2 separate regions of the Homo sapiens genome follow, and region 1 is linked to region 2. The links are contacts of gene promoters, found by promoter capture Hi-C in human tissues and cell types (Jung and others, 2019). All regions are on one chromosome and are shown on one strand. The core of a region is centred on a gene start or on the middle of the fragment in contact, and the rest is flanking DNA. Distances in the headings are between cores, read along the strand shown. Region 1 overlaps LOC105369421 (a long non-coding RNA gene). Region 2 holds the start of TMEM126A (transmembrane protein 126A).

Region 1 (4,513 bases), core at 520-3,019, 710 kb after region 2:
CCTCTTTTCAAGAACTTCATCAAATACCTAATTGAGCACTGAGGTTCAGTCCCAACAAATGTTTGATGCTGTCAGAGGCATGTGAACCACAGCAACTCCATCTTAAATAGGAACTAGGCAAAGTGGGGCTGCATTCCCAGATGGTTAAGGCATTCTTAGTCCCAGGATGAGATAGGAGGTCAGCACAAGATACAGGTCATAAAGACCTTGCTGATAAAATAGGTTGCACTAAAGAAGCTTGCTAAAACCCACCAAAACCAAGATGGCAATGAGAGTCACCTCTGGTTGTCCTCACTGCTGCAATCCCACCAGTACCATGACAATGTCATGCCATGGCAACATCAGGAAGTTACCATATATGGTCTAAAAATGGGAGGCATGGATAATCCACCCCTTGTTTAGCATATCATCAAGAAATAACCATAAAAATGGGCAACCAGCAGCCCTCAGGGCTGCTCTGTCTGTGGAGCAGAGATTCTTTTATTCCTTTACTTTCCTCATAAACTTGCTTTCACTTTATGGGCTCGCCTTGAATTCTTTCTTGTGGGAGATCCAAGAACCCTCTCTTGGGGTCTGGATCCAGACCCCTTTCCTGTAATAATACCCTTGTAAACCAAAAATAAAATTCTAAGCCACTCAGCTTACTGAATGGACTCCTTTTGGCCAAGGGGATCCCAAATAAAAAACTTGTTAAGGCCATGATGGGAAGTGGAGGTTGAGGCCAGACATGCTTTGTTATGCCCTCCTCCCTTTGGAGTTAAGGCACAACTGACCAGCATTAACATTAAAACAGAAATCATAAGATTGATAAAACAGACTGTTGTTAGTAATAAGATACCCAACTCCAGCCTGACTCTGGTATAACATCACATGACAGCGGCCCTAAAGGAAATCAAAGTATTTTATCCCAAAATATATTTCTTTGACGTATTTTGGAATGGCCCTGCAAAGCTGTCTCCTGTGGGGGAAATTTGCATTCTTTAGAGAATCCCCTTCTCTTTACAAGTCTTTTCCTAATCCAGGAGAGATTTAATACCTTTTAAGGTCTGACAGACATTTATTATCTATTCTCCCAGAAGCCTGTTACTTACAGGCTTCATCTACATAACAAGAACCTTGGCTTCCAGGTGGTGAGGTAGCTCGTGCTTGTAATCCCAGCACTTTGGGAGGCCAAAGCAGGTTGATCACGAGGTCAGGAGCTCAAGACCAGCCTGGCCAACATAGTGAAACCCTGTCTCTACTAAAAAATACAAAAATTAGCCAGGCATGGTGGTGTGTGCCTGTAGTTCCAGCTACTTGGGAGGCTGAGGCAGGAGAATCGCTTGAACCTGGGAGGCGGAGGTTACAGTGAGCCGAGATTGCACCACTGCATGCCAGCTTGGGCAACAGAGAGAGACTTTGTCTCAAAATAAATAAATAAATAAATAAATAAAATAAAAAGAACCTTGGCTTCCACAACCCCCCTTATCTTAAGCATTTCTTTATGTCGACTTCCATTTCTCAAGCAAAGCTTAATCCTTTTAATCGTCAATCAGAAAATCTTTGAATGCATCTATGACCTGGAAGAACTCCTCCACCCACATCCCCCACTCTCTGCTTCAAGATATCCTGCCTTTTATACCTTACATGTATTGATTTATGTCTTTGCCTATAACTTCTGTCTCTCTAAAATGTATAAAACCAAGCTATAATCCAACCACCTTGGGCACATGTTCTCAGGACCTCCTGAGGCTGTGTCACAGGCCATGACACTCATATTTGGCTTAGAATAAACCACGTCAAATATTTCACAGAGTTGGACTTTTTTTTTGCTAACACCCTCAAGCCTCAAATAACAAAAGCAGTCCAATAAAGCATTGAAGTGAGGACCAGTTGTTACAGGAGAGGGGTCCCAATCCAGACCCCAAGAGAGGGTTCTTGGATATCATGCAAGAAAGAATTCAGGGCGAGTCCACAGTGCAAAGTAAAAGCAAGTTTATTAAGAAAATAAAGTGGTGAAAGAACAGCTACTCCATTGATAAGAGTAGGACGTTCCTGAAAGTCAGAAGAGGAATGCGTCCACCCTAGGTACAATGCTTGTATATACGGGGAGATGTGCTCTGCTACAAGGGTTTGTGATAAAGGATTAATTTTCTTAATTACTATATTTTGCAAGAATTGATACTATTATCTTTAAAGCAAAATCAGGAATGCCTTTCTTCTCCAGATATCAGGATATCTGGACACTCCCAAGTCTGGGTCTGTTTAGGAAACATTATTAATTTGTTCCCTTAACCGTAAACATTTAGAGGCTAGGAATGCCTCATTTTCTGAGAATGCAGCCCAGCAAGTCCCAGTCTTATTTTCCTAGCCCTCACTCAAAATGGAGTCACTCTGGTTCAAACGCCTCTGACACAGTGACTGAGTATGCCCTTGGGTATGCCCTACTTATTTTCTAGTGTCAACTCTTTCGTTGACAGTTTCTCTGTATTTCTGAGAAAGGGATATCCCAGGGAGTCAGAAAGGGAATCAGCCTTACAATCTCTCCAGCTACTGACACTTCTCCTCTATAGTGAGCCACAGTGAGGGGGAGGCCAGTCAGCAGCCATATGGAGTGGGGTTCTGCTTCCCTGATCCAAATAGGTTGTTTTCTCTGTGTACAAACTAGACCTTTATAGAGCTTCAAGCTGTTCTTTACTAAAGAGTCAAGTGAACATTCCTGAGTCACTTGGAGTCCATAGGCAGAGATCAGGCATTCAGCTTTTGGTCTAGTCTCTCCCCACCTCTAAGCAAGAGGAAGGCAGAACCTCACCTCATAAGCCATCAGATGACAGGCTATCTCAGGAGCAATTCTCCGTTTCTTTTACACAAACCACCCTTTAGCCCTCCGAATAAAGTTTCAGCCCCTAGTTTCTTTTGCATTTCATAGATTTTCTTGCTTAATATAGCCACTGGATGTACACATGTATTCTTTCTGCTTTTTTGTCTCCATTTGTCTCTTCAGGGAGAGAGATTCTGTAAAGACTGAAGAACAGGGGGAGTCCACTGAGTGCTTTCCAGCTGCAGCTGGTTTCCCCCTAAAGTACCACAAATCAATGTGCCATTATGAGGATTAATTGAGGATTAATTTTCGTTCCATCACTCTGCAATCTAATCTACATTAGAAACATCTAATCTTCCTATTGACATTTGTCCTTTCCTTTTTCTGGTTTCCATTTCAAAGGACCCTCACATTAACGGCACATGGCTCTACTTAAGCAACCTGGTTAACTAAAGCTAGGATTTAAATGTTTCTCTTTAATCCTCAAGTTTATTCTCTGATAATGGGGTGGAGGGGTGGATAGTCTCCTTTTATGCCACCACACTAGTTGGATATTTAGTGGTTTTATAAACTTGTAAGCAGACAAGGCCACAGATATTGATTTGGACTAACTGAAGCAGAAGGAAATTATTGGAAGACTGTTGGGATGCTCAGAGTGATGGGAGCTAGGACAATCAGACCTGGAAATGGGCAGGAATCAAGAGGGATCTGGGGGATTGGCCATTAGGAACCCAGGCAATTTTCTTAAAGCAAGATAGTGAAAAGTGCATACCATCCCTGTGGAAATAACTTCCACATTTTCCTGCTGTCTGCCTGTCAACAGCTCAACAGTCTGAGCCCCAGAAAGAGCATCTGATGACTGATATTGGGTCACATACCTGGCCCCTGGTCCTGCAGAGTCAAGGAGGGCAAGGATCTGTTTCCTTCGGCTTTGGTAATGGAATGTAGTCACCAGGAATGGCAGCCCCACTAAGATTACACACAATGTAGATCTGTGAATTCCAAAAGGAAATGTGGAGGCTCTTAGGGCAGCCAAAACAAAACAAATGCCAACCAGAACTGTTTTTTTCTTTTGAGGTGGAATCTAGCTCTGTCACCCAGGCTGGAGTGCAATGGCACGATCTCGGCTCACCACAACCTCCGCCTCCTGGGTTCAAGCCATTCTCCTGCCTTAGCCTCCCAAGTAGCTGGGACTACAGGCACACGCCACCACGCCAGGCTAATTTTTGTAGTTTTAGTAGAGACAGGGTTTCACCATGCTGGCCAGGCTGGACTCAAACTCCTGACTTCAAGTTATCCACCTGCCTCAGCCTCCCGAAGTGCTGGGATTACAGGCGTGAGCCACTGTGCCTGGCCAGAACTGTGTTTTCAGTGGGCCAGTTGAAATGTAGGAGAAAGAAATTGAGAAATAAGGATGGAAGGAAACAGGGAGAAGGGTGGTAGAAAATGGAAGTGAGCAAGAAAGCAGAAAACATTCACTCAAGAAAAACTGTTCTTTGGCAATAGGTACATCTCTATGCAAGTCAGTGTGGCTTTTTTCCTCTAACATGATTTTAAAAGCTCTCTGAAAGCTCAGAAAACAGAAAACACATCTTGGTGACCTAGAAGTATAGTCATCTTCTTTCACCACCAGATGGTGCTTTATGTATAGAATGGAGGACAAGGATCCTGAGGACATTCCCAAACACTTGCATATTTAGGAAGCTCTTTTAC
Region 2 (4,833 bases), core at 687-3,186:
ATTCCACACTCTGGCTCTTTTTTTTTTTTTTTTTTAACTTTTCAACCTTATTGGCCATTATTCTCTACAAGATGGTGGTTTATAGTTTCTACATAATTAGGAAACACAGACAGTTACAGAGAAGGCCTAGTGAAATTCCATTAAGGCAAAGGTAGTAAGCAGAATATTGTGATTTGTTTGCTTAAAACCTTGAGATGAAAAGCAAAGTGAGTAAAAGACTAGATGACCAGGCACGCTGGTTCACGCCTGTAATCCCTGCACTTTGGGAGACCGAGGCGGGTGGATCACCTGAGGTCAGGAGTTCGAGACCAGCCTGGCTAACGTGGTGAAATCCTGTCTTTACTAAAAAATAAGCCGAGGCTGGGCACGGTGGCTCACGCCTGTTATCCCAGCACTTTGGGAGGCCGAGGCGGGTGGATCACGAGGTCAGGAGATAGAGACCATCCCGGCTAACACAGTGAAACCCCGTCTCTACTAGAAATACAAAAAAATTAGCCAGGCGTGGTGGCAGGAGCCTGTAGTCCCAGCTACTTGGGAGGCTGAGGCAGGAGAATGCTGTGAACCCAGGAGGCGGGGCTTGCAGTGAGCCGAAATCACACCACTACACTCCAGCCTGGGTGACAGAACGAGACTCAGTCTCAAAAACAAAAAAAAAAATCAGCTGATCAGCTGGGCGTGGTGGCACACGCCTGTAATCCCAGCTACTCTGGAGGCTGAAGCAGGAGAATCGCTTGAACCTGGAAGGCAGAAGTTGCAATGAGCTGAGATCAGGCCATTGCACTCCAGCCTGGCCGACGAGAGCAAAACTCTGTCTAAAAAATAAAAAATAAAAATAAAAAAAAGACTAGGAATTTTCCTTCTTGTACACCTTCGTGAAAATAAGTCTTTCTATTTGTGCAAGTTTAGAAACTGCAATTACAGACTTCTTGGCACTATGGAGCCTAATGGTCAAGCAACCCTGCAATGGAGAGACAGTATAAAAATTATCTGGACAATGCAACACTTTATCACTTGTTCAGAAATTTGAGAGGATGAGAATAATTAAGATTTCTGATAATGTGTTATGATCATGTATTTATTGCTACAGTTAGTTATATATTTTTTGGCACAATGTTTACCTGCTAATCTTAATGGAGTTAAGATAAAATTCAATTGTAGGCATTTTTCCCTTCTATTGGGTTAATTAGTCCAAGCGAACTGAGCAAAGGTTGCAGGGAGCCCCAGCATGGCTGAGGAAGACCTGGTGAGGCATCCACTGGCTGCTGGGAGGAGAGCATTAGAGGTACCTTCTGAACAGCACTGTCCAATAGAAATATAATGCAAGCCACATATATAATTCTAAATTTTCTAGTATTTATACTTAAAAAGCAAGAAGAAATAAGATGACTTTCACCCAACACTGCTTCCAAATAAGCAGTACTCTGGAGAACACGAGAAATCCTCAGAAAAATAAGCTGCAGCTCTGAGGTGCTGATTATGGTAGGGCAATCAATACAGATCAAAACATGGCACAGGGAGCTTAAGTTCCTAGGGAGAGTAGAAAATCGATAGAGCCAAGAAATAGCTCACCTTTGACTTATTTTTAACCTGAGTAGCTATCATATGCCAAGAGCTGTGCAGTTTTCATTTACCCCATGCCAAGAACGTAAGTAGGCTCTACTGACCAGGAAGTTAAGTAATATGCCCGAGGTACGTTTTCAATGGAAGAGGCTGACTGAGGGTCACCCAACTTATATCTCGAAATTTCACAATTTCTACAAGTTCTGTCCTGGGAGGCAAGAGTAGGTGAAACGAGCACACTCTACGCCAGGCAAACAAACCTCAACGCTTAGCCTCCCGGCACCTCCTAGGGCCGGAAGCTTCTCAGCCCAAAGCCGCTGCTGGCTGCAACCTCCGTCCCGCAGTCCAATTAGCAGCCGCGACCCGGCGCCCGCCCACGCCGCGTCACGAGTCAGCCAAAGATGGCTGCGCCCAGGTAATTTGAGCAAAGGCCACAGTGAACTCCGGCGTGGCTGAGGAAGGAGGAGGCACCCACAGGCTGCTGGGAGGAGAGCATAAGGTACTGGTATTCCGGGGGAGGGGGTGAAGTAAATGTCCCGGTGTCAGGAGAAGCACGACGCGGTGACACGCTAGCTACCAGCAGCGCTGCGCGTAAATGAGAGCAAGTAGAAGTGTAGTTAGCTCTTCCTGCTGTCTTTTCACTTTGCACTCTAGAAGGAAAGACCTTATATTTAAATTAACTCAGTAGAAAGGAGAAATGCCTGAGATTGAATTTAATCCCAGGTTTACTGTCAATTTACAAGGTGACCACGGCCAAATTTGATTTTCAGAGGTCCCACTTTACTTCTCTTTCAGATAGGCCCCACACTGCCTATCTCTCAGAGCTCTTCCAAGAATGACATGAGATAGGTAACACAAAAATCTTTCGAAATATTTGTAGTTTTTACAGGCGGCGTTGTCTTTGATAGATATTTGTTATTAATATCGGAGACAAAATGCCCACAGGGGCTGCCCAGTCAGCACTTATACTGAATTGAGTGACTTAATTGCCCTCAGTACAATATATACATACTAAATTTGATTATATATTTCACCACCCCATACACAAAATCATTCAGAGCTCCTGTACAGCAGAGATTGTGTCTTATCATCTTATCGTAGCCAAGGCCCTCAAAAATTTGACTACCAGAAACCTAGACATAAATTTCTAAGGCTGCTTTGTACTTATTAGGTTAGCTTTAAGTCTAGAGATATGGAATGTCAAGGTAATCAACATTTCCAAATGACCTCTTATCGATATAAAACAGGTAGCAATAAATATTTAAACGAGTGCCTGTAATGTTGTAGGAAATGAGAAAATCTGGTTTCATAAAAGCATGTTTTCCTTTGTTGTTATCCCTGAACTGTTTTTTTTTTTTTTTTTGTAGACCGAGTCTCGCTCTCACCCAGGCTGGAGTGCAGTGGCGAGATCTCGGCACACTGCAACCTCCACCTCCCAGGTTCAAGCGATTCTCCTGCCTCAGCCTCCCGAGTAGCTGGGATTACAGGCAGCTGCCGCCGTGCCTGGCTAATTTTTGTATTTTTAAAAGACAGGGAGTTTCACCATGTTGGCCAGGCTGGTCTCGAACTCCTGACCTCAGGTGATCCGTCTGCCTTGGCCTCCCAAGGTGCTGGGATTACAGGCGTGAGCCACTGCATCCAGCCTTTGTTTTTCTTAACTGTTACCCTGAAACCTGAGCCAAATCTTCATCATTCACCATTCCCTTCACATTTTCACCCTAACTAGTGCAGACATCAACAAACTACTGGCATGTAGGCCATATGCAGCCTATAGCTTGCCTTGGTACAGCCACCCAGCTAAGAATGATTTTTATGTTTTTATAGTTTTTTTAAAAACAAATATTCAACAAAGGCTGTATGTTACCTGCAAAGCCTACCACATTTACATCTGGCCCTTTAAAGTTTGCTGAGCCCTGATCTCAGGTATACCTAGAAATGAAATTGCTAGCTATGTGTGTCTTCTATCTGCTAAATAATACCAAATTCTTTCCCAAAGTGACTGTACAGTTTGGGTAAAGCTACCCCACAGAATGTACACAGAATGTAGTTTTAGCTACCCCGCATTCTTGCCAATAATTGGAATTGTCAGATTTTGATTTTAGCTAACCTATGGGTACCTATTGGTATCTCACTGTGGGTTGTTCCCCCAGTTATAATGAAGGTGAGCATATTTTCATGTTTATTGGCCATTTAACTTTCCTTTTTGTGAAGTGCCTGTTCAAATATTTTGTCAGTTTTTCCGTAGGGCTGCTTACCTTTTTCATGTTGATATGTAGTTCCATGTATGTTCTGGGTACTAACTACTCTTTTGTCAGTTCTATTGCATTTTCTCCCCCACTAGCTTATCTTTATGGTATATGTTGATAACCATAGGTTCTTAACTTCAATACTGTTAGTTTTATAAGTCTTTTATGTTTAGTGCTATTTGTGAATTGTTTAGGAAATACTTTCAAGGATTATGAAGATATTCTGTATTTCCTAAAAGCTTTATGTGTTGCTTTTCATGTTCTGGTTTCTGTTTCACTTAGATTTTTTTTTAATAATATGTATGCAATGATTTTTTTCAGATTAGCTCTACAGTATTATTTTTAGTCTTCAGAAGGTTTTTAAAATTCTTTGTATAAATTCTTGAGAAATGATATCTTCATGTTTTTTAAGGCTCAAAATGGAAAATCATAAATCCAATAATAAGGAAAACATAACAATTGTTGATATATCCAGAAAAATTAACCAGCTTCCAGAAGCAGAAAGGTAAGATCCCTTCTTAATTTAAAAACACCTTTTATCAGGTGGATTTTCACCATTGATTCATTATCTCAAGTTTATCTGGTTTGAGTATAAACAACATGGAATGTGAGAAGGAAATTGCCCTTTTCTTGCCTGGATGAGAGCGTTTAACCATTTTGCTCAACATCACATAGCTAATTGTGGAAGGTGAGGCTGGAACTCATGTCTTTGGACATACCTAATTGTATAATGTTTTGAGTTTTTCCATTAGGCTTGGAGTATAGTAAAATGTAAACATTTACAGACCCATTTAAATAACAAAACTTTAACTTTTAAAATGTCTTTTTTTTCCCAGTTCATTCTGTCAGTATGCTTACCAGTCTAAGAGTACCATAGAACACACATAGCAAGATAGAGAATGTCAGAGAAATAGGATCATGGCTAAAGATCTTTAAGATATTATTAAAGAGGGCCAGGCATGGTGGCTCACGCCAGTAATCCCAGCACTTTGGGAGGCCAGGGTGGGCAGATCACCTGAGGTCAGGA

What was found. Contacts are between HindIII fragments. The study calls those that stand out against the background at their distance.
Region 1: a fragment that was not itself captured here is called in contact with the fragment with the promoter of TMEM126A in region 2 in 1 of the 25 tissues and cell types used here (H1 embryonic stem cells).

Annotation. Positions count from the first base shown.
Region 1 is chr11:86,356,536-86,361,048 of GRCh38, forward strand. It overlaps LOC105369421 (a long non-coding RNA gene), which reads right to left. Exons shown (of 5, transcript XR_007062826.1): 3 at 3,679-3,792. Among named protein-coding and RNA genes, the nearest start is that of CCDC81, 16 kb to the right of the region's middle. RefSeq lists an enhancer at 114-648. The HindIII fragment of the contact is 4,712 bases long and covers 1-4,125 here.
Region 2 is chr11:85,646,031-85,650,863 of GRCh38, forward strand. TMEM126A (transmembrane protein 126A) reads left to right here and starts at 1,937. Exons shown (of 5, transcript NM_032273.4): 1 at 1,937-2,059; 2 at 4,219-4,311. The coding sequence starts at 4,226. RefSeq lists enhancers at 1,698-1,747, 1,918-2,187. The HindIII fragment of the contact is 9,993 bases long and covers 1-4,833 here.